Linked DNA regions of Homo sapiens: all the other regions are linked to region 1. Evidence: promoter capture Hi-C in 16 types of primary human blood cells and fetal thymus (Javierre and others, 2016). All regions are on one chromosome and are shown on one strand. The core of a region is centred on a gene start or on the middle of the fragment in contact, and the rest is flanking DNA. Distances in the headings are between cores, read along the strand shown. Region 1 holds the start of DRC11 (dynein regulatory complex subunit 11). Region 2 overlaps COPS8-DT (COPS8 divergent transcript). Region 3 overlaps COPS8-DT (COPS8 divergent transcript). Region 4 overlaps COPS8-DT (COPS8 divergent transcript). Region 5 overlaps COPS8-DT (COPS8 divergent transcript). Region 6 overlaps COPS8-DT (COPS8 divergent transcript).

Region 1 (3,535 bases), core at 880-3,379:
ACAAGATAAAACCTTCTGAATCTTCCAATCTTAACTAGTTTGCTGTCTTCTTCCCCAAATACTCCCCCTGCCTTCTTGCTCTACGGAAGGCCTGTCTCTGCTCAGAAGCCCTCTCAGTAGAGGCTCCTGTTACCCCCAGAGCCCTCTGTCTCTGGCTGTGGGGCTGGGTCAAGGGGACCCCTTCTCTTCACTGCACCTCCAGACATTTGCCTTCCCTCCTCCCAACACTCCCAGGCTTTGAATCCCATTTCATCTGATGCTGTCACCACTGCCCCTCAGTCACCATCATCTTCCATCTACCATGATCGTTCCAGGCCACCTCCAGAGCACCCACCCACTGAATAGCATCTTGATGCTGCCTTCCTACCTGTTCCATTGTTAAGTGCTGAGTTCCTCTACCTAAGGCCAGCACCCCCTGGATCCCATGTCCTCTCACTACCAACGATGTCACCCACTTCTCCCTCCTCCTCCTATATCATTCTGGGCCATTCCCTTCCACACACAAACATTCTATTGTTTTCTGTCTTGGAGCCATGTCCTCTGCCTCTAGCTGCCAACATATTTCCTTTCCTCTGCAGCAAAACTCCTTTAAAGAGTTAGCTATGCTCACCATCTATAGTTTCTCTCCCCCTACATTCACTTGAGTAAGTCTTTCTATCTCATCATACCACTGAATCAGCTCCTGTCAAGGTCACTGGTGAACTCCACACTGCCAAATCAACAGTCAGTTCTCAGTTCTACCCCAACTTGTCTCAGGAGCACTTGATGGAGGAGAAAGAAGTTACTTCTCCTGGAAACACTATTATTTCTTCCACTCGCTTCTTCCTCATGGATCATGTCTTTGATTCCTTTGCCAGGTCTCCTCTTCCCCCAGCCTTACTGTGGATGATCCCAGGATCAGTCCTTACACCTCTTTATTAATATTCATTCTATGTCTCACAAAGACCATCACAGGCTGACAGTGAGCAAGTTTATATTTCAGACATGGGTCTCGCTCCTGAACCCAAGATCTGAATATTTTAATTGCCTATTTCATCTCCACGTGATGTCCAATGGGCACTTCCAACTCAATACGTCTTAAACAGAACTCTTGATCTTCCCCATTTCCAAACCCTGGCAAGCCTTTAACCTCTCTGCTCTTATTTCCTTGCCTAGAATACAGGGCACGTAATAGCAACAGTGCAGGCTGGAGCTACAGTGCCCGGCTTGGCACTGTTCACTTGCTGTGTGAACTACTTCACCTCTTCATCCCCAAGTTCCCTCATCTGTAAAATGGAAATAACAATATTAACAGCCCCTACGTTACAGGGTTGCTGTGAAGCGGTTAGAACAGTGTCTACAGGGTCAGCGCTGTAATACCTGTTGGAAATTATTCTTACGAAGACCAAATGAGGTAACTTTGTGCAAGTGCTGTGTAAACGACACAGTGCTAGGCACACACTTCTTTCAGTACCAATGCCACTCGAGTCTGTGAAAAGCAAATGTCAATAATGCTTTCCCAAGATCTTTCTAGACTTAAATTTCAGGACCTAGGTGTTTCCACAAAGCACCGTATTTGTTACCGTGAAAGATTAACAAAAAAAGCAGACAAAATGGCATAGTGCTTCTCAGCAATAGCCCCTAAGGGCTTGGCAGGTATACGGAAGACTGGGAGCTCATCCCCATGGGGTGGTGGGACGCGTAGGGGAGGGGGAGATCTAAGTGTATGATTTTCCTTGCTCACAAGAAGCAGATACTCTATCCCGAGGCATATTTGAATTTCCTAAAAGGAAAAAAAGTGGGGGAGAGGAGGGAAGTTGAGAGGGGAGGAGAAAAGAAAAGAAAAAAGAAAATAAGAGAAGCAGAAAGCAAGCCACCTTCTGGCTTGGGGAAGCCCACTCCATGGCTGTGGCTGGGAGCCCATCACTTACGCGTTCGACATTGCTGGCTACTTTCCCTCTTTTCCTCGCCCTCCGGGAAGCTCTTCCGTTGCTCTCTGAAGGACGGTGGCAGCAGGGGTCAGGGCACTACCAGGAGCTACAGAGGATTTGGGTGGGGGGTCTTCTGGAGGGAGAAACCAGGACTGCGAGAATCTTCTGCTTCGGGCAGGAAAAGGTGAGGCCGGGTTTGCTTCGCAGGCACGGAGCGCGCAGGCGCAGAGAGGTGTTTCACTCCTTCCCGTCGCGACCCAGAGACTCGCGAACCTCACTTCGGCCACTCAGGTGGGCGCGACGCGGCCCTAGCAACGGAAACGCCGCGCCTGCGCATTGCCTTCCGCCTGCCCCCTCCCCCCCCCCGCCCCCCGCATTCCGCGCCTGCGCCACCGCGGGAGGCCTGGGTGGGCGCAGCTGTGGGAGCCGGTCGGAGTCCGAGCGCTCCGTCGCGGGGCCCGGCCGCTTGGCGAGCCTGCTCCGGGCCCCAGCACTTAGCCTGTGGTCCTCCAGGCCGTCTTCCCGCTTTCCTGCTGGCCCCATTTTCATCCACTGTCAGCTCTGCGGCCTTGGGCAAGGCCCTTAATGATGGTGGTCTTCAGTTTTCCCATCTGTAAACTGGGTATAACAGTCGTTCGTTCAGAACTTTACTGGGCATCTATTCTGGGCCAAGTGCAGACTTAGATTCTGGGCACCCAAGACTTAGGCAGACGCGCCCTTCGGAGACTTAATGAGTATGAACTAAGGCGCGGGTGCGTTGTAAATGTAAAATGCAGTGTGGATGCTATTAACAGTTATCCGTAAGTCGCTATGAGTGTTGGCTTTCATTGCTCTTCTTTCTTCGACTTTAGTAACTGTTGAGGTTTATTTGCACATTTTAGACCCTGCAGCTCCTATTGGAACGCCAGGTTTAATGCTGTCAAAGGCGTGGAGAGGACATCCAGGTAAAAATTATAATCAGGATCACAAAACCTCTCCCCCACCATTACTAATGAAATGCGCAAAAGCATAGTAAAAGCCAGCCCTCCGCACCGCCTTCAAATAATGGAGCAAATTATTTCTCAGACGAGAAATTGAGTACAACCTTGTACCGTAAACTTCAAAAACTCAGTGAAATAGCAGCTTGCCGTGGAGAATGGTGTCCAGCCTCATCTCCACCCTCCCAAAGCCCTTCAGGGGGCAGAGACCAAGTAGACACAACACCAAGAATTCTCATTAATGCTTTTTGATGCAAAGAATACACACACTGAAAAGAAGGGGTATGAAAGGGTGAGCCGAACGAGGAAACACCTGGGGAAATCCGGCCAGATAAAACCATCCTGAGTGGAGGTCAATCCCTACCGCTCCCAGGACCTGAGCAGGGACAGGAGAAATCTCCAGGGCTTGCCTTTTTCTAGGTCCCTACATTGAATTGAGGCAAAGATTCAAAGTCAAAGGGCATGTTGTCACAGGAATAGGGCACACTCGTGACAAGAGTGGGAGGATGGTGGTAAAGGAGCTTATCAAAATCTCAGAAGAGAGCACAGAGCCTGGAAGTTGTGTGGATTCAAGGGAGCAGTCCTTATCCTAAATGTGTACTCAGGTTCCAGAAAAGCAGAGAAAAGTGCAGTATCTCAGCTCTGGAA
Region 2 (3,549 bases), core at 110-2,609, 420 kb after region 1:
ACAAAAACAAAAAACCCCAAAAAACATAATTAACAACATGAAAAAATATATTTACATATAATATTTTTGAACAAATATAATACCAAAAAATTATACATACAGAGCAGTGACCTGGATCCTGACAGTCACACCTCCAGCATGACCAAAAGCCAGGTGCGTAGTCTCTATAAGCTTCAGTTTCCTCATCTCTAAGATGGAGCTATTGATGATTCTCACACCACAGGATTGCTATAAGGTTTAAAGGAGTTAATCTTACTATGCATTGCCTCATAGTAAACATTGTGTAGTAAATATGTGTTTGCTACTACTACTGTTGTTTCCAACTGAAGCTGTACCTTCTTTCAGTCAATATTTAGAACTAGTTAATATTTATTGTTCATTATAAATATATGATCACTGAAGTTTTCAAACTAAAACTTCTAAAAACAATTAAGATTTTCTGCTCATCATCACTGGTCATTAGAGAAATGCAAATCAAAACCACAATGAGATACCATCTCATGCCAGTTAGAATGGCAATCATTAAAAAGTCAGTAAGCAACAGATGCTGGAGACGATGTGGAGAAACAGGAACACTTTTACACTGTTGGTAGGGGTGTATATTAGTTCAACCATTGTGTAAGACAGTGTGGTGATTCCTCAAGGATCTAGAACTAGAAATACCATTTAACCTAGCAATCCCATTACTGGGTATATACCCAAAGGATTATAAGTCATGCTGCTATAAAGACACATGCACACGTATGTTTATTGTGGCACTGTTCACAATAGCAAAGACTTGGAACCAACCCAAATGCCCATCAGTGATAGACTGGATAAAGAAAATGTGGCATATATACACCATGGAATACTGTGCAGCCATAAAAAGGATGAGTTCATGTTGTTTGCAGGGACATGGATGAAGCTGGAAACCACCATTCTCAGCAAACTAACACAAGAACAGAAGACCAAACACTGCATGTTCTCACTCGTAAGTGGGAGTTGAACAATGAGATCACATGGACACAGGGAGGGGAATGTCACACACTGGGGCCTGTCAGGGGGTGGGGGGCTAGGGGAGGGATAGCATTAGGAGAAATACCTAATGTAGATGATGGATTGATGGGTGCAGTAAACCACCATGGCACATGTATACTTATATAACAAACCTGCACGTTATGCACATGTACCCCAGAACTTAAAGTATATAAAAAAATTAAGATTTTCATAATCGTAGATAAGACCTTTTTGGAATCTTTTCTTCTAATTATATGTTTATGTTCTCTTTAGCACAAGTATGGATTTCACTGCATAAATTGTTCTGTCCTGCTTTGTCATTTGCTATTTGCTGTAGCTTGAATTCTCCCCTGTATCATTAAATGCCTTTAAAAATCTGATTTTTACCCTATTGTATTTAACCATTCCATTTTCAGACATTCTGGCAGTTTGCTTAATTTTATTATAATTAATAATGCTGTGATGAACATTACTGTATAAACATGTTTCCAGTTGTTTCCAGGCATAGTAGAGATATTAAAAACTTACTTGTTTGAATGGAGAGGTGGCTAAATGGATAAACAGAAAAATGGGTGAATGTGTGACTGTTAAGCATTGGAATGTAAAGGTTTGAAGAAGATATAAAGGCCCAAGTCTATCCATTGACAGGTGAAGTAAGAATTCAGATTATTTTAAAGATAAAAGAGTCTTGAGAATATTCAAATACTGAATAAAAAGACTCAGTAGTTATGATTGTGGACTGAGGATGGAGTGAGTATGACTGATGAGTGCAGATCCCTAGAGACAGGAAAGGAATGAGATCCAGAACAGGTGCAGAGGGTAATTCCTTCAGGAGTCAACTATTATTTCGTGACTGGAGAGAAGGAAGCAAGGATGCAAGGTTGTGTGTTCATGCAGGTATGTGTAGAAGCAGGAAGAAAGTTGAGAGAGTTCTGAGACTCCAAGGGTCCCTTTTTGTTAATATCAGCATGGCCTTTCCAAACTGAGGGGCAAAAGGAGACGAAATCAGAGTTTGGGGAAAAGGGTAAAAGTTTGAGAGAGCTGTCCTAGATTTCTGCAGAATATGAGAAGAGGCTGCCACCAAGGACCACACAGAGGGATGGCCAGGCAGCTCTGAAGTATGGGTTGAATCTGGAAGCTCCACAGTGCTATGTAGAGCAGGGAGAATCATCATTGGGCTTTCCTGGAAGGGAGAAATAGAGGGACAAAGACAAAGAAGAGAATGACTTGAGGATCTGTGCAAGAATATGAATGTTGTGGCAGCCCAAATCTGGGCTGAATATTATCAGAATAGTGAAAGTGAGAGAGAGGGGAGCAGGTCTATTGTGAGATGACCAAAGGAACAACTTCTTGGAGATTTTTCTGAGTCTCGAACAGAAGGAAAGGGACCAGAGAAAGAAAGAGCTGGGATGATGGGAGATTGTAGTCAGAGAACTCCTAGGGCAGAGGAATTTAAGATTTTAGAAGTAGATAAATTACAGGGACATGTCCAAAATAGGGCCTTGATACCAAATGTCCAAAGTGAAGTGAAAGAACGTGCCAATGGGTTCAGAAGCTTAAAGAACAATGGCCATCTGGTCAAGGACAAGGGACATCCAAATCATCCAGAATAAGGGTGAGTCTTGGAGCGAAGTGGGAGACAAACACCCAGTGTGAATGTTTTCTGTGAATATGGGGCATTGACTCAACTGAATAAATGACCAAGGAAAAAGGGTGGAAAGTGGCAAACAAGATGGCAGCATCTTCCTATATAAGAGCTCATGAAGTAGCCTGAGAGTAGCCTCGGGGAGGGAGTCTCAAAGAAGAGAGAGTAGCCTCGGGTGGGAGGAGTCTTAAAGAAGAGAGTAGCCTGGGGGCAGGAGGAGTCTCAAAGAAGAGATAGTAGCCTGAGGGAGGGGGGGAGTCTCAAAGAAGAGAGAGTAGCCTGGGGGTGGGGGGAGTCTCAAAGAAGACAGAGTAGCCTCGGGGTAGAGGGGGGAGTCTCAAAGAAGAGAGAGTAGCCTCGGGTAGGGGGAGCCTCAAGGAAGAGAGAGTAGCCTCGGGGAGTGAGTCTCAAAGAAGAGAGAGTAGCCTCTGGGAGGGAGTCTCAAGGAAGAAATAGGATTGCAATAAACACAGGAGGGGGAAGGGCCTTTTAAGCTGAAGCTGTACGTTGAGCAGAGTCAGAGTTCCTGACCATCGGGAAACCAGGAGGAAGGGACAGCGGCGAATCTATGTGACCAAGGCGATGTTGATCCCACAGCACATAATGGCAGGACTCTTGCACCAGGGAGACTTAGAGTCATAAGTAATGGAAAGTGTGTTCCAGTTGTCAAAATAAATGAGTAAAATGTATTTTATGGGGTGTTATTTTTAGTTTTATAAGGCCAGATGTTCCAGCTGTACATTGCCTTACGCGCCTGTATTTCCTGGAAGCGACAGTGTCTCCATTTTCCTGACAGTCTAGAAATACCTTGCCTGGCCTCCATTATCCAGAGTCTGCGCTCCTATGGCCTCACTTATCTGGATCCTAGGAATGAAAGTAGAGGGAACACATCAGGACCCCAGACAGCC
Region 3 (3,320 bases), core at 746-3,245, 450 kb after region 1:
TGGTTTCTTACGTGTGAAAATCTGGCAACAATTTTAATGTCTAATAGCATTTGGATGGCTAAATTCCATAAAATGGGATATAATACAGATACTAAAAATAATGTTTTGGTAGATTTCACTGACAATTAGTCAATATTAATTTTAAATGAAATATTAAAATATTCTATATGAATTTAATATTTCTTAATAAGTAAACATGCATATATATTCATAACATATTATAACATTGTATAAATATTTTTAGCAAAAGACTGGAAAGATGCTGAGACAACTGGATATCTTGGGAAGAAAAATGCACTGTATAAAAATCACACCCAGATTTATTATAAATTTAAATGTTAAAGGAAAAATAATGAAGACTGTAGAAAAAAATCACATTTTAATGAACATGAAATAGACAAAGAGTTCTTAAGCAGGACACAAAGAGTGCTGAATCATAAAGAAAGAAATAAGATAGCATTAAAACAGTCTGAAATGAATAGAAATGAAAGCCACTTCCACAGTAGAAGAAGAGATTTGCAATACATATGTCTAATATATTAAAAATGTTTTAGATCAATAAAGAGATGAAAAGCCTAGTAGAAAAAATGAGACATTTCACAAATGAGGCTATCCAAATGTCTAATACACATGAAAAGAATGGCTAAAATGAAAAAGATGGGGAAAAACAAAGGGTCGATGATATGGTTTGGCTGTGTCCCCACCCAAATCTCATCTTGAATTCCCATGTGTTGTGGGAGGTACCTGGTGCGAGGTAATTGAATTGTGGGGGCAGGTCTTTCCCATGCTGTTCCATGAGAGTGAATAAGTCTCACAAGATCTGATGGTTTTGAAAAATGGTAGTCTCCCTGCACAAGCTCTCTCTTTGCCTGCTGCCATCCACATAAGACGTGACTTGCTCCTCCTTGCCTTCCACCATGATTGTGAGGCTTCCCCAGTCACACACTGTGAGTCCAATTAAACCTCTTTCTTTTGTAAATTGCCCAGTCTCAGGTATGTCTTTATCAGCAACGTGAAAATGGACTAATGCAGTTAATAAGAATGTAGATTGAGCTGCCAGCAGGATCATGTACTGTTGGTGGGAGTGTAAATTGGTGCAACCACTTGGGAAAACTATTTGGCCATAGCTACAAAAGTTGATTACAGGTGTAATTAGCTATGTAATTTGTAACTACATAGCTATGTAATTTGTAATTCCCACACTGTTCTTATGATAGTGAATAAGTCTCACAAGATCTGATGGTTTTGAAAAATGAGTCTCCCTGCACAAGCTCTCTCTTTGCCTGCTGCCCTCCATGTAAGATGTGACTTGCTCCTCCTTGCCTTCCGCCATGATTGTGAAGCTTCCCTAGTCATGTGGACTTATAAGTCCAATTAAACCTCTTTGTAGGCTATGTAATAGTGATGTAATCTGTAATTACACCTGTAATCAGCTTTTGTAGCTATGGCCAAATAGTTGTGTGGTACCAGTCCATGGCCTGTAAGGAACAGGGCTGCACAGCAGGAGGTGAGCAGTGGGCAAGTGAGCATTACCATCTGAGCTCTGCCTCCTGTCAGTTCTGTGGCAGCATTAGATTCTCATAGGAGCGTGAACCCTACTGTGAACTAAGCATGCGAAGAATCCAGGTTGCAAGCTTCTTATGAGAATCTAATACCTGATAATCTGTCACTGTCTTTCATCCCCCCACCCCTAGATGAAACCATCTAGATGGGGGAAAACAAGCTCAGGGTTCCCACTGATTCTACATTATGGTGAGTTATATAATTATTTCATTATATATTACAATGCAACAGTAATAGAAATAAAGTGCACAATAAATGGAATGTGCTTGAATCATTCCAAAACCATCCCCACCTGGTCTGCGGAAAAATCGTCCTCCATGAGACTGGTCCCCGGTGCCAAAAAGCTTGGGGACTGCTGCTTGTAGAACATTGAGAATAAACAAACTGCAATGGCTTGCCAGGGTGTGGGTGAGTCTCAGAAACATAACGTGGCATGATTGCATTTATATATAGTTCAGACCAAAGCTACAGTGATCGCAGCTACCCCTGGGGAGGGAGGGATGACAATAAGGAGGCTTGGAAAAGCTTCCAGGCGCTGCTGAGGCTGTGTGTTCAGCCTGGCACTGATTGCACAGGTGCATTCAACTTGAGAAAATTGATCAAGCCAAGCTGTGCTCTTAGGACCTGTATCTTTTTTATAGGTAAATTCCACTTTAACATTTGTTTTTTAAAAAAGAGAAATAAAGCCTGGAAGGTATGTAAGTAGTTATAATCTGTGGGTTATGGAAGATTCTTCTTTTTTTCTTTATGTCTATGTTTTCTAAAATGAGCCTCTATTACTTCCATTGTCAAACAGTTTTCTTTGGTTTTGCTTGTTTTGAAATCATTCCTGCTGCCTTCATCAGAGCAGGCTCTGTGATATGTCAGAGCCACTGGCCCACAGCGGGAAGAGCTTCCTGTTCTAGGAGGAGGCCTACTCAGTAATTTTGCTCCTCATAATCTGAAACCAGAACTTAAACTCAGGGCACATTTCCAGAAACTGACAGGGCTGACAGTCCTCCAGTGTTCACTACTTTCTTCCTGGGGCAGCAGCCAGGTGTGTTGTCCCAAATGCCATCTTTTCCAGTGCAGGCTCTGACCGTGAGAGAAGCATTCAAAAGCACAGCAAGTCTGCGAAGTCCAGGATGGGATCCTCATTGCTCAGTTCTCCTCTTAACAGCCTTCCAGCCTAGGCGATAGGGCAATACCCCCTTCTACACAAAATACAAAAATCAGCCAGGTGTGGTGGCATGCACCTGTGGTACCAGCTACTTGGGAGGCTGAGGTGGGAGGATCACTTGAGCCCAGGAGACGGAGGTTGCAGTGAGGGGTGATCTCACCACCGTACTCTAGCCTGGGTGACAGAGTGAGACCCTGTCTCAAAAAAACCAAAAAGGAGTGAAGTGTCCTTTGTGAACTGGAAAGTGCCAAGGAGAACTGGAAGGAGGCTGATTGTACACCTACTCCAAATACGGCTTGTTTAACTGTCAGTCACCTCGATGTCCCAAAGGGAAAGAGACTCTTCTGAAGATGCTGATGTTGGCACATGCATTTAAGGTGAGCACCTTACTTACACTTCAGTCAACAACATGCTTACCTAACACATTCTGTGATCAATATGTTCGTGGTCTCGATATTAGACCAAGTGACTCAAACTGGCTTATTTATCATGGCACCTAAAAAAAAGAAAACAGAGATGGGTGTGACATTTAGGCAATATTTGATCTTAACTCTGTCTCTATTTCTTTGCCATTTTCTCAGCCCTGCCCATCTCTCTG
Region 4 (3,199 bases), core at 693-3,192, 400 kb after region 1:
CAGCTCTGACTTCCTGTCTCCCATGTGCTGTGGCAAAGGCCGATCATTGCACATGTTGCAGATAGTTTTGTTTAACCCACAGTGGAGACAGTATATATATACGTATATATATATACACATATATATATATACATATATATATATACACATATATATATACATATATATATACACATATATATATACATATATATACACACATATATATATACATATATATATACACATATATATATACATATATATATACACATATATATATACATATATATATACACATATATATACATATATATACACATATATATATATACACACACACACACACACAAATATATACATATATATACACACACACAAATATATACATATATATACACACACATATATACATATATATATACACACACACACATATATACATATATATATATATATATATATATATATATATATATATATGTATTTTTCCCCCCTAAAGAACAATGACTTTGACAGGAATGAGGTTGAACAAACATTTATTTATCGCCTGTTTTCATAGGGCAGATGGAGAAGCAGTTTTATGCTCAGGGAAAAGAACTGATTTTAAAAGCTTACGTATTGGGATATTGTTACCAAGTCCCACTCAATGCTATGTTATTAACCAGATGGTAAATGTCTCATTTAAATGTCCTTTATTGAACATCTGGGGAAACTGTTTCTGAGCCATGTTTTTGCTCATTGCTCACTGTGACGGGGGTGATTCTGTTGGAGTGGATGTTGTTGCTGTTAACCTGCAAGTGTTCCCGGTTCAGACCCCATCCTGTGGTTTAATCCATGTCTGCAGGATGACAATGAGTTGCCATTTACGAGAAATGTAATCGCAGATTTTGGAGGCCCCAGCATTCCTTTCAATGTTTATAGTTTCTGGAAAAGAGGAAAATTTGTTCTGTAAATGTTGTGTATTCGTGTTACACATTGTAACTGCATTGCACGTGTGTGGCCCCGCTGAGGAGCATGGGCTATTTAGTTATGGCCACCGCTGAAGATTGGTGCCACTGATAGATGGCAAGTGACAGCAGGCAGAGGAGAGCGTGATTTTATGTGATTCTTTGAATTTTCTCATGTCATTTGCAGCAAAATATAAAATCCTGACTACCAAATTTAAAACTACAAAGGAAAACAGGCAGGGCGCGGTGGCTCACGCCTGTAATTCCAGTATTTTGGGAGGCTGAGGTGGGCAGATCACTTGAGATCAGGAGTTTGAAACTAGCCTGGTCAATGCGGTGAAACCCCATCTCTACTAAAAATACAAAAATTAGCCAGATGTGGTGGTGCACACCTGTAATCCCAGCTACTTGGGAGGCTGAGGCAGGAGAATTGCTTGAACCTGGGAAGTGAAGCAGAGGTTGCAGTGAGCTGAGATCGTGCCATTGCACTCCAGCCTGAGTGTCGCAGTGAGATTCCGTCTCAAATAAAAAACAACAACAACAACGACAAAAACAGTCCACGTTAAGACAGAATTCTTGTCAGTTGTGGAAAGAGAAATGCTCTCCTTCACCTATTTCTCTGTTGAGGCAGCCTGAGCATGCGACTGTCCTGTGACACACCTTCATTTCGGATGCTGTGCCCGGCCCCGGGCTCCCCACTTTTCCACGGTGGAATCCACATGTGCATTTTGTAGTCATGGCTTTTACTCACAATTTTCCCTCTAGATGCAAACGCGTCTCCATGAGGAAGAGCAAGGCTCCTGCAGGATGGAGATCAGATGGATCAGGGATCCCACAGACAGAACCTTTTGCCTGATATGAGCACCCTTGGGAGAGACCTCTTCACACAAATGTTCCTTGCAAGGAAAACACTCCTGCCTCACTTTCTTCAACCCAGCCATGACCTTTCTTGGTGAGAAACTGTAGGAAGAGTTGGATCTCTGGTGTGTGTGTGTGTGTGTGTGTGTGTGTGTGTGTGTGTGTGTGCATGGTCTGATATGAACTACGTAGCCTCTTCCTTCCGGGATCAGCTCCTCACTGTGTCCCCAGATGAGGCTTTAACCCCTGAGTGCCCTGGATGATGGTGCTGCTGCCCCCTGGCCCTGCTCACCTGGCCCCTTCCCTGGCTCTCTCTCTGCAGGGACAGGGTCACACCAGGGTTACAGCATCTGCCTCCCAGCCTCCCAGCTGGCCAGCCCTTCTGCAGTGGCTCAGCCGCAGACCCCTCCTGCACACCACAGCCAAAAACGATTCTGCCAGGACTACAGCATCCCGTGAAACTGACGCTTAATGATGCAGAACTCCACGTTTCCTGTCGTCAACTTGTCATCATTTTCCTTCCCAGAACCCCCAGCACCTCTGACACCGACCTGGATCTCTACTCCAGAAACTCAAAACCCATTTTTGCCACACCGTCACGCTAGCTCTCCTTTGCTCCCCTAATCCAGGTCCCCGTTTCTCTGCACCTGTGCCCACCACCGGGAATCTCTCCTGTTAAGTCGCCTCCTCCATCCCGCCTTCTCCTGACCCCGTTGGCCCATGCGTCTTTGAACTTTTGCAGAATTTGCATCTGTAACAAATTACTTGCTATTTAATTATGTTCTGTCATATTATTCCTGTTGAATTTGGCTGAGAACCATGCGCTCCTTGAAAGCAGAAACTGTCTTTGTTGTTCTGTGTCCTGATTCAACCCACTAGCCCCAGAGCACGTCTGCAGGAAAGGCCTTCTAAGCTCAGGTCATCAAGCTCCTCCCAACTGCACTCTTTTACTTCTGTTTTTCCAAGTCGATCTTTTTTTAAAAAAAAACAAAAAACTTAAATGAATTCATTATTAAAAAAACTTTTTATCACCTCCAGAAATGGAAAACTGTATCATTTGCCATCAGTAGAATTTGGCTGTAAAAGCAAATTCCATGTAAACAGAACAATGCTGTTGGGTCCTACTTCCTCAGTCTGAGACCTGCTCTTTCTCCCGTGGTCATGGAGACTCCAAGTTCTAAAGACATACTAGGAACAGAGAGCAGCTTTTATTGTATCCAGAAGAAGAGAGACAGAAAAAAACAGAACCACCTGAAAAGTGAACAACTTCCTCACTCTGTGATTGGCAGTTGTTGAATCCAGTGAACAGGCACCACCAAAGATCACCCTCAGCCCACACCTCAGGACCCTCTGGTACAGACTCCAAAATCTACCACTTACTGTGTGAGTTCCAAGTAACAAACTCTGAGTAT
Region 5 (3,122 bases), core at 370-2,869, 510 kb after region 1:
GTTCAATGTCTGATGAAAAGCAGGTGACTAATTCAAGTTCTTTTTATTTTTCCTCTTCTTCCTTTCCCAGAAAACCAAATAAGGGTCCCAGTGACATTTTGCCATGGATGTTTCCACTGTTGGAATTGCTGTCAATGTTACTTGTTTAGTGGATGAAAACCCAGTTCTAAATGGCATCACTAATTGATCATGGCTTGCTTTCCAACTGAGCTTTACGATTCTTCTCAACACGGGGCCCTGAACTTACATCTTCAGGCCTATGAGGTGCAAATGTGCTATTGATTGTCCCACCCTGTTCTAGATTATGAGCAGCCATTCTAAGACCTGGGGTTCAGAAAAAAGAGGGATTCCAGAGGAATGCACAATCACTGGTAACTCAGGGGCTTTGATGCAGTCCCAGGCATAGAAAGTTCCTCCTCCTCAGGGTTTGACCATCACATGTCTGCCCGCACCCAGAGCCATCTTCCTCCATCCCTCCTACAGGTCAGGAAGAAAACTGGGTCCTCACCCACTAAACACGTATCGTTGACAGTAATTCCAACAGTGGGAACATCCGTGGCAAAATGTCACTGGGACACTTATTTGGTTTTCTGGGAAGGGAAGAAGAGGAAAAACAAAAAGAACTTGAATTAGTCATTAGCTTTGCATCAGGCATTGAACAGACATGGTATCTCCTTCCATCCCTTGCAGTTCTGAAAGGATGATTATATGTATTCTATCGTATCATTATATATCATGGTTTTTTAGCCACTGGTGTCATTGACAATGCCAGTAACTAAGCCAACCTGTTTGACCAACAACAAATTTGGATGTTTCTGACTTTTTTTTTTAATAGACTTTTGCTGCTACTGTTAACTGCTCAAGGCATTCTAATAGGCACTTAGACCATACCTATGATTAGGAGCTCTTTGCAATTTGCTATTGAGCCCCTAAACAGCAGGCAGACATCAAACGGTCTCTAACATGATTTGAATACCACTGGATTCTTTTGTCCTCTTCTGATTCCCTACCATAATCCTGTACACTCAACCAATAACAATCTTTTGAAGTTTATAACTTTCTTAACTTCAAAGTTTTCTCGATGCCTAAGTAACAGGAGGTTTTCAAGGTGGAAATGCTAAATGAGTATACCATGCACAGTATAAATAACACACATCCAAGGGCATCCAAGACTTCAAAACCATTTGTATTAAGCTAGACAGCAGCTGTGAGAATCTACCCTTGTATGATGTCCTATTATAAATATCAGATTAGAGGAAACTTGGGGAGTGAGGCCTTGTTCATTCATATTGGGTTTTATTAATTTCCCCGCCCCCCCCCCCAAGTACATTCAACATGAGAGCATCTTAACATACCCCAGGGGCATTCCTGTGCATTCATGCAACTGTTCTCATCAAAGGAAAAAAAATACTTCACCCCATTATTTTATGTGGCTTCCAAGAGAGTTTCAACCCTTAAAAATTTATAAGTCCTTTTCATTAGGCCACTATTGTTTGATAGAATCTTAACCTCCTTCTGACACCTTGCTTCCCTAAGTAAAAATGTAATAACAACACTTACAACAATAACAACAACACAATGACAATAATAGTAATGGCAAACACCAGGTGGTCTGCACTTTCTATAGGCTGTGTGCCTCATCTGCATTCTGTCAATGAATCTTTTTTTTTTTTTTTTTGACAGTCTTGCTCTGTCACCCAGGCTGGAGAGCAGTGGTGCAATCTCTGCTCACTGAAACCTCCACCTCCCAAGTTCAAGCGATTCTTATGCTTCAGCCTCCAGAGTAGCTGGGTTACAGGCACGTTCCACCAAGCCTGGCGAATCTTTGTATATTAGTAGAGATGAGATTTCACCCGTGTTGACCAGGCTGGTTTCAAACCCCTGGACTCAAGTGATCCACCTGCCATGGCCTCCCAAAGTACTGGGATTACAGGCATGAGCCACCAAGCCTGGCTGATTTTTGAATATTAGTAGAGATGAGATTTCACCACGTTGACCAGGCTGGTCTCAAACCCCTGGCTTCAAGTGATCCACCCGCCTTGACCTCCCAAAGTGCTGGGATTACAGGCATGAGCCACGATGCCTGGCAATTCTGTCAATTAATCTTTATCAGAGTCCCATTTTAAAGATGTGCAAACTGAGGCTGGGAGAGGTTTAGGCAACTGGCCTAAAATAATGATAAGTAACACATGGATCCAGGACTTGACTACAGCAAAGCCAATATTTTTCTTCTTCTCTTTAAATTGTCTCCCTTTCTTGTTTTTCTATAACCCAGATAAAACATTCCTCAATTGATTGATCCTAGATAATTATATATGCATATGTTTTACTTCTCCAGTGTTTTAATGTCTAAGATCGTCTACAAGTTCTATACATCAGTAATTACTGTATTTCATGAAATGGGAAGTAGCAATTTTTTCGTTTGGCAGCTTGTAAACTCAGTCAGACAGAATCAAATCACTTCCCTGAAGCTCACCACAGGAAGGTAGCCTCATTACCTAAAAAACAGAACAAAAAAGAAAAAGAAAAAGAAAAAAAGGCTCCCTTCTTCATGAGCCTTCCACGAATGCATTCTGCATCTTTATTGCTGCTTTCATTGCTTGGCTCTCGTTAGACTTTTCCCCCAGATGTTCTTAATTTGGGGGTTATTTTCCATTGCATGTGGGCCCTTCAGTACTGTAAATATTTGACTTCAATATTTTCCATAGCTTGAAGAACTTTACAGTGGTCACTTCAGACATGGTTACAGAATGTTCTCTGATCCTTTCAGGCTGCTCTGTAAATTAGAAACTTGGTAGTTGATATCTTGTGGGCTCCACACACCATTTTTTTTTTCTCAGACTTTGATGTCTAAAAGTGCATTGTGTTATTTAGGCCTTAGGCACGTATAGAGATATCCCTGAAGCATAGATCAGGGTGGCTCATATGAATGAATTTTTTCCAATTAATTTATCCTCTATGGTGGGATCTCACATTAAAAATCATATTGTAGGTTTTTTTCTTTTTCTTTTTTTTTTTTTTTTTGAGATGGAGTCTCACTCTGTCGCCCAGGCTGGAGAGCAGTGGCGTGATCTCGGCTCACTGCAACCTCCACCTCCCAGGTTCAAGTAATTCTCTGCCTC
Region 6 (3,074 bases), core at 434-2,933, 480 kb after region 1:
CATTTGAACACTCTCTGCTGGTCTGAGAACTTCATATTTCTTCAGTAAATCATTATAATCTGAGCACACGGACAGCATCCTTGCTTCTGGCGCCAAGAAGTACAATCAACTGGTGGAGAGTGTTTCTTAAATGAAAGTGGTGTTTCCAGTTGGCAAAACAGATTATTTTTGCTATTAAAGAAATTGATTTCTTAACACATGTGATTAATTATGTCTGTAAAACAGAAAATCCATCAAAGACAAAATGTTTTTCCCTTCAGAAAACACTTACAAATTCTTACAATGTCATTGACTAAATATGACATTCTATTAATGGGCACCTTGTCTCCAAAGATACATCTGGGCTCATTCTCCACATTGTCTTCCCTAGGCTTTTGGGAGATTGATGACTGATGACAAAAACAGGGCAGCACTCGGTGACTTTCTGCTGGTTCTTGAGAATCCAAATGAAAGTCCTACCCTGAACCTGCTCTGCAAAGGGGACCCACATGAGGTAAATGACAAAAGATGATTCCGTTTCCACGGTGAAAGGGATCTTGCTAGACAGCCTGTTGGCTTTACCTTCCAAACATATTCAGAGTCCCAGCCCTTTCCCCTCATTTCCTGCTAATTCCCCAGCCCAAGCAGGGCCATTGCATGCACAGCTCCAACATGTGTGCAACGGTGCCCTTAGGATTGTAGGGTGCACAGTCAGCCTGGGGTGGCCTTGTGATACCCAGTGGTATGGTTTGGCTGTGTCCCTACCCAAATCTCATCTCGAGTTGTAGTTCCTATAATCCCCATGTGTCATGGTAGGGACCTGGTGGGAGGTAACTGAATCATGGGGGTGGTAGCTGCCATGCTCTTCTCATGATAGTGAGTAAGTTCTCAAGAGATCTGATGGTTTTATAAGGAGATTTTCTCCCACTTCACTCTGCCCTTCTTGCTGACGCCATGTGAAGAAGGATGTTAGCTTCCCCTTCCACCATGATTTTAAGCTTCCTGAGGCCTCCCCGGCCCTGCAGAAATGTGAGTCAATTAAACCTCTTTCTTTTATAAATTACCCAGTCTTGGGTATTTCTTCATAGCAGCATGAGAATGGACTAATAGACCCAGCATCTTCTACCTGGAGTATATTTTGTATTTTTCGTATGTTTTATTGCTTATTTGTCACATCCATTTCGGAATGAAAATCCTTTTGTTAAAGCAAAAAAAAAATTGAACACTCTCTGCTGGTCTTAGAACTTCATTGTGGTTGCCTCCCAACCAGGCTACCTAAATCTACCTCCCTACCTTTCTGTTTATTCTAAACACAGCAGCCCGAGAGATCCTGTTAAAGCATGAATCAGATCATGGGACTCCATGGCTCCAGTTCCTCCAAGAGCTTCTCATCTCAACCAGGGAAAAACCCAAAGTCCCCCAGTGGCCTCAGCTTCTCCCTACCTCTCTGACCTCACACCCAACCCTCACCTCTGACTCACCCAGCTCAGGTGTGCTGGCTTTCTCTCTATTTCTAGAGCCTTGCCAGATGTAGCTGGTCCCTCTGTGGGGAATTCTCTCCCCAGTGAGCATGTTGATGGTGGGCTGTCTTGCCTTAAGTCTTCAATGCAATGTCACCTTCTCAGAGGAACTTTTTCCAACCACTGTTGTTAAAATTTCAGCTGCCCCTTTACATTCCACATCCCTCTCCCCTGCTTTAGGTTTCCCATAACACTTACTACTGTTGACATACCACACACCTGACCTATCTGGCACTTTCTTCTCTGCCTCCCTCCCAAGAAAGTGACATTTCTGACGGCAGGAGTTATTGTCTGTTTTGTTCGGTAGCTCCACTGCCTAGCACTGTGCATTGCACATAGCAGGTCCTCAATGAATATTTTTAAATGAATAAATGGATAGACGAATGGATGAATTTATGGACAGATGGGGATGGATAATGGATAGATAAATGGTTGAATGGATGGATGGATGGATAGATGGATGGATAAATGGATGGATGGGTGGATGGGTGGATAAATGGATGGGTGGATGGATGGGCAGATACATAAATAGATGGATGAATGAGTGTGTATCATTCCTCTAACCCAGAGAAAGCACAGTTGGCTGCATAAGAAGTGCCTAAACTCGAGAGTACTGGGACCACCAGCGGAGATTCTGATTCAGTAGGTTTGGAACAGGGCCTAGGAATATCATTATAATAGGCTCCCCAGGGTTCATCATATACAGTGAAGTTTGAGTTCAAGGGATGACAGAGAGGTCCACAAAAGGTTGGCTTGAACATCTGGCTGAATGATATGTTATGTACACATTAGACACTCAGGGAACATTCTCTGGGAAGGACGGGATTTAAGGAGAGGTGACAGTGGCCTTACTTTGTTTGAAGAGCATGTCGTCTGTCATATGTCTTCCTTCAAGCTTTCACAAACTGTTTACGCTATGACCCAAATTCCACCTGGAAAATGCATCAATAGAGCATGTACTGTAGCCTCCTCCATCCTCAACAGCGGAGGTCATTCATCTCCTCACTTCTTTGCTGGGAAAGTGATGGGAACTTGCAGCAGCAGAGACTCCTCATAACACATCAGCCCACCTGTCACCTGCTGTCATAATCAAACGTCACCTTCAACCAGCACCTTGCATGCTCTGAGCTTGACGCACATTTTTGCACTGCCTTTTCAGGAGTCACTTCATCCAGTTCCCTGGCAGTTACTTTCAAGCTAGAAGACACTAGCTCCATGTTCCACAGTATTTCATGCATGCCTGTCTCCTAGCCTTGCCAATACAGTGTCATGAAGAATCTGTGCACATAAAGGTCCAGTCATCTTTCATCACCAGGGCCTGAAATGAGTGGTCATTCATTAAATGTTTGCAGGCAGGAAAGAGAAAGTAGGGGGAAGGAAGGAGGGAGGGAAAGTGTAATAGCGTGAAGCCACAGCAGTTTAGCAGAAATAAGACACAAGGCACTGGCCAGGTGCAGTGGCTCATGCCTGTAATTCCAGCATTTTGGGAGGCTGAGACAGGAGGATCACTTGAAGTCAGGAGTTTGAGACCAGCCTGAGCAACATAAAAGTATCTTTAAAAATTAAAAAATATAT

The links. Contacts are between HindIII fragments. The CHiCAGO score rates a contact against its expected background, and 5 or more counts as called.
Region 2: a contact is called between a fragment that was not itself captured here and the fragment with the promoter of DRC11 in region 1, in 1 of 17 cell types (M2 macrophages). The highest score is 5.6, in M2 macrophages.
Region 3: a fragment that was not itself captured here is called in contact with the fragment with the promoter of DRC11 in region 1 in 2 of 17 cell types (M2 macrophages and M1 macrophages); the score reaches 6.9 in M2 macrophages.
Region 4: a fragment that was not itself captured here is called in contact with the fragment with the promoter of DRC11 in region 1 in 1 of 17 cell types (M2 macrophages); the score reaches 6.8 in M2 macrophages.
Region 5: a fragment that was not itself captured here is called in contact with the fragment with the promoter of DRC11 in region 1 in 6 of 17 cell types (M2 macrophages, M1 macrophages, monocytes and 3 more); the score reaches 19.9 in M2 macrophages.
Region 6: a contact is called between a fragment that was not itself captured here and the fragment with the promoter of DRC11 in region 1, in 3 of 17 cell types (M1 macrophages, M0 macrophages and M2 macrophages). The highest score is 6.2, in M1 macrophages.

Annotation. Positions count from the first base shown.
Region 1 is chr2:236,505,347-236,508,881 of GRCh38, forward strand. It overlaps DRC11 (dynein regulatory complex subunit 11), which reads right to left and starts at 2,130. Exons shown (of 19, transcript NM_024726.5): 1 at 1,911-2,130. The coding sequence starts at 1,921. RefSeq lists a silencer at 2,256-2,305. The HindIII fragment of the contact is 24,475 bases long and covers 1-3,535 here.
Region 2 is chr2:236,929,781-236,933,329 of GRCh38, forward strand. All of the region lies in intron 2 of COPS8-DT (COPS8 divergent transcript), which reads right to left. Among named protein-coding and RNA genes, the nearest start is that of COPS8-DT, 150 kb to the right of the region's middle. The HindIII fragment of the contact is 2,380 bases long and covers 170-2,549 here.
Region 3 is chr2:236,950,766-236,954,085 of GRCh38, forward strand. COPS8-DT (COPS8 divergent transcript) reads right to left here. Exons shown (of 3, transcript NR_187934.1): 2 at 1,856-3,218. Among named protein-coding and RNA genes, the nearest start is that of COPS8-DT, 130 kb to the right of the region's middle. The HindIII fragment of the contact is 181 bases long and covers 1,906-2,086 here.
Region 4 is chr2:236,910,270-236,913,468 of GRCh38, forward strand. COPS8-DT (COPS8 divergent transcript) reads right to left here. Exons shown (of 3, transcript NR_187934.1): 3 at 502-906. Among named protein-coding and RNA genes, the nearest start is that of COPS8-DT, 170 kb to the right of the region's middle. The HindIII fragment of the contact is 2,705 bases long and covers 591-3,199 here.
Region 5 is chr2:237,017,630-237,020,751 of GRCh38, forward strand. All of the region lies in intron 1 of COPS8-DT (COPS8 divergent transcript), which reads right to left. Among named protein-coding and RNA genes, the nearest start is that of COPS8-DT, 67 kb to the right of the region's middle. The HindIII fragment of the contact is 4,861 bases long and covers 1-3,122 here.
Region 6 is chr2:236,990,666-236,993,739 of GRCh38, forward strand. The region is part of intron 1 of COPS8-DT (COPS8 divergent transcript); the gene reads right to left. Among named protein-coding and RNA genes, the nearest start is that of COPS8-DT, 94 kb to the right of the region's middle. The HindIII fragment of the contact is 1,417 bases long and covers 976-2,392 here.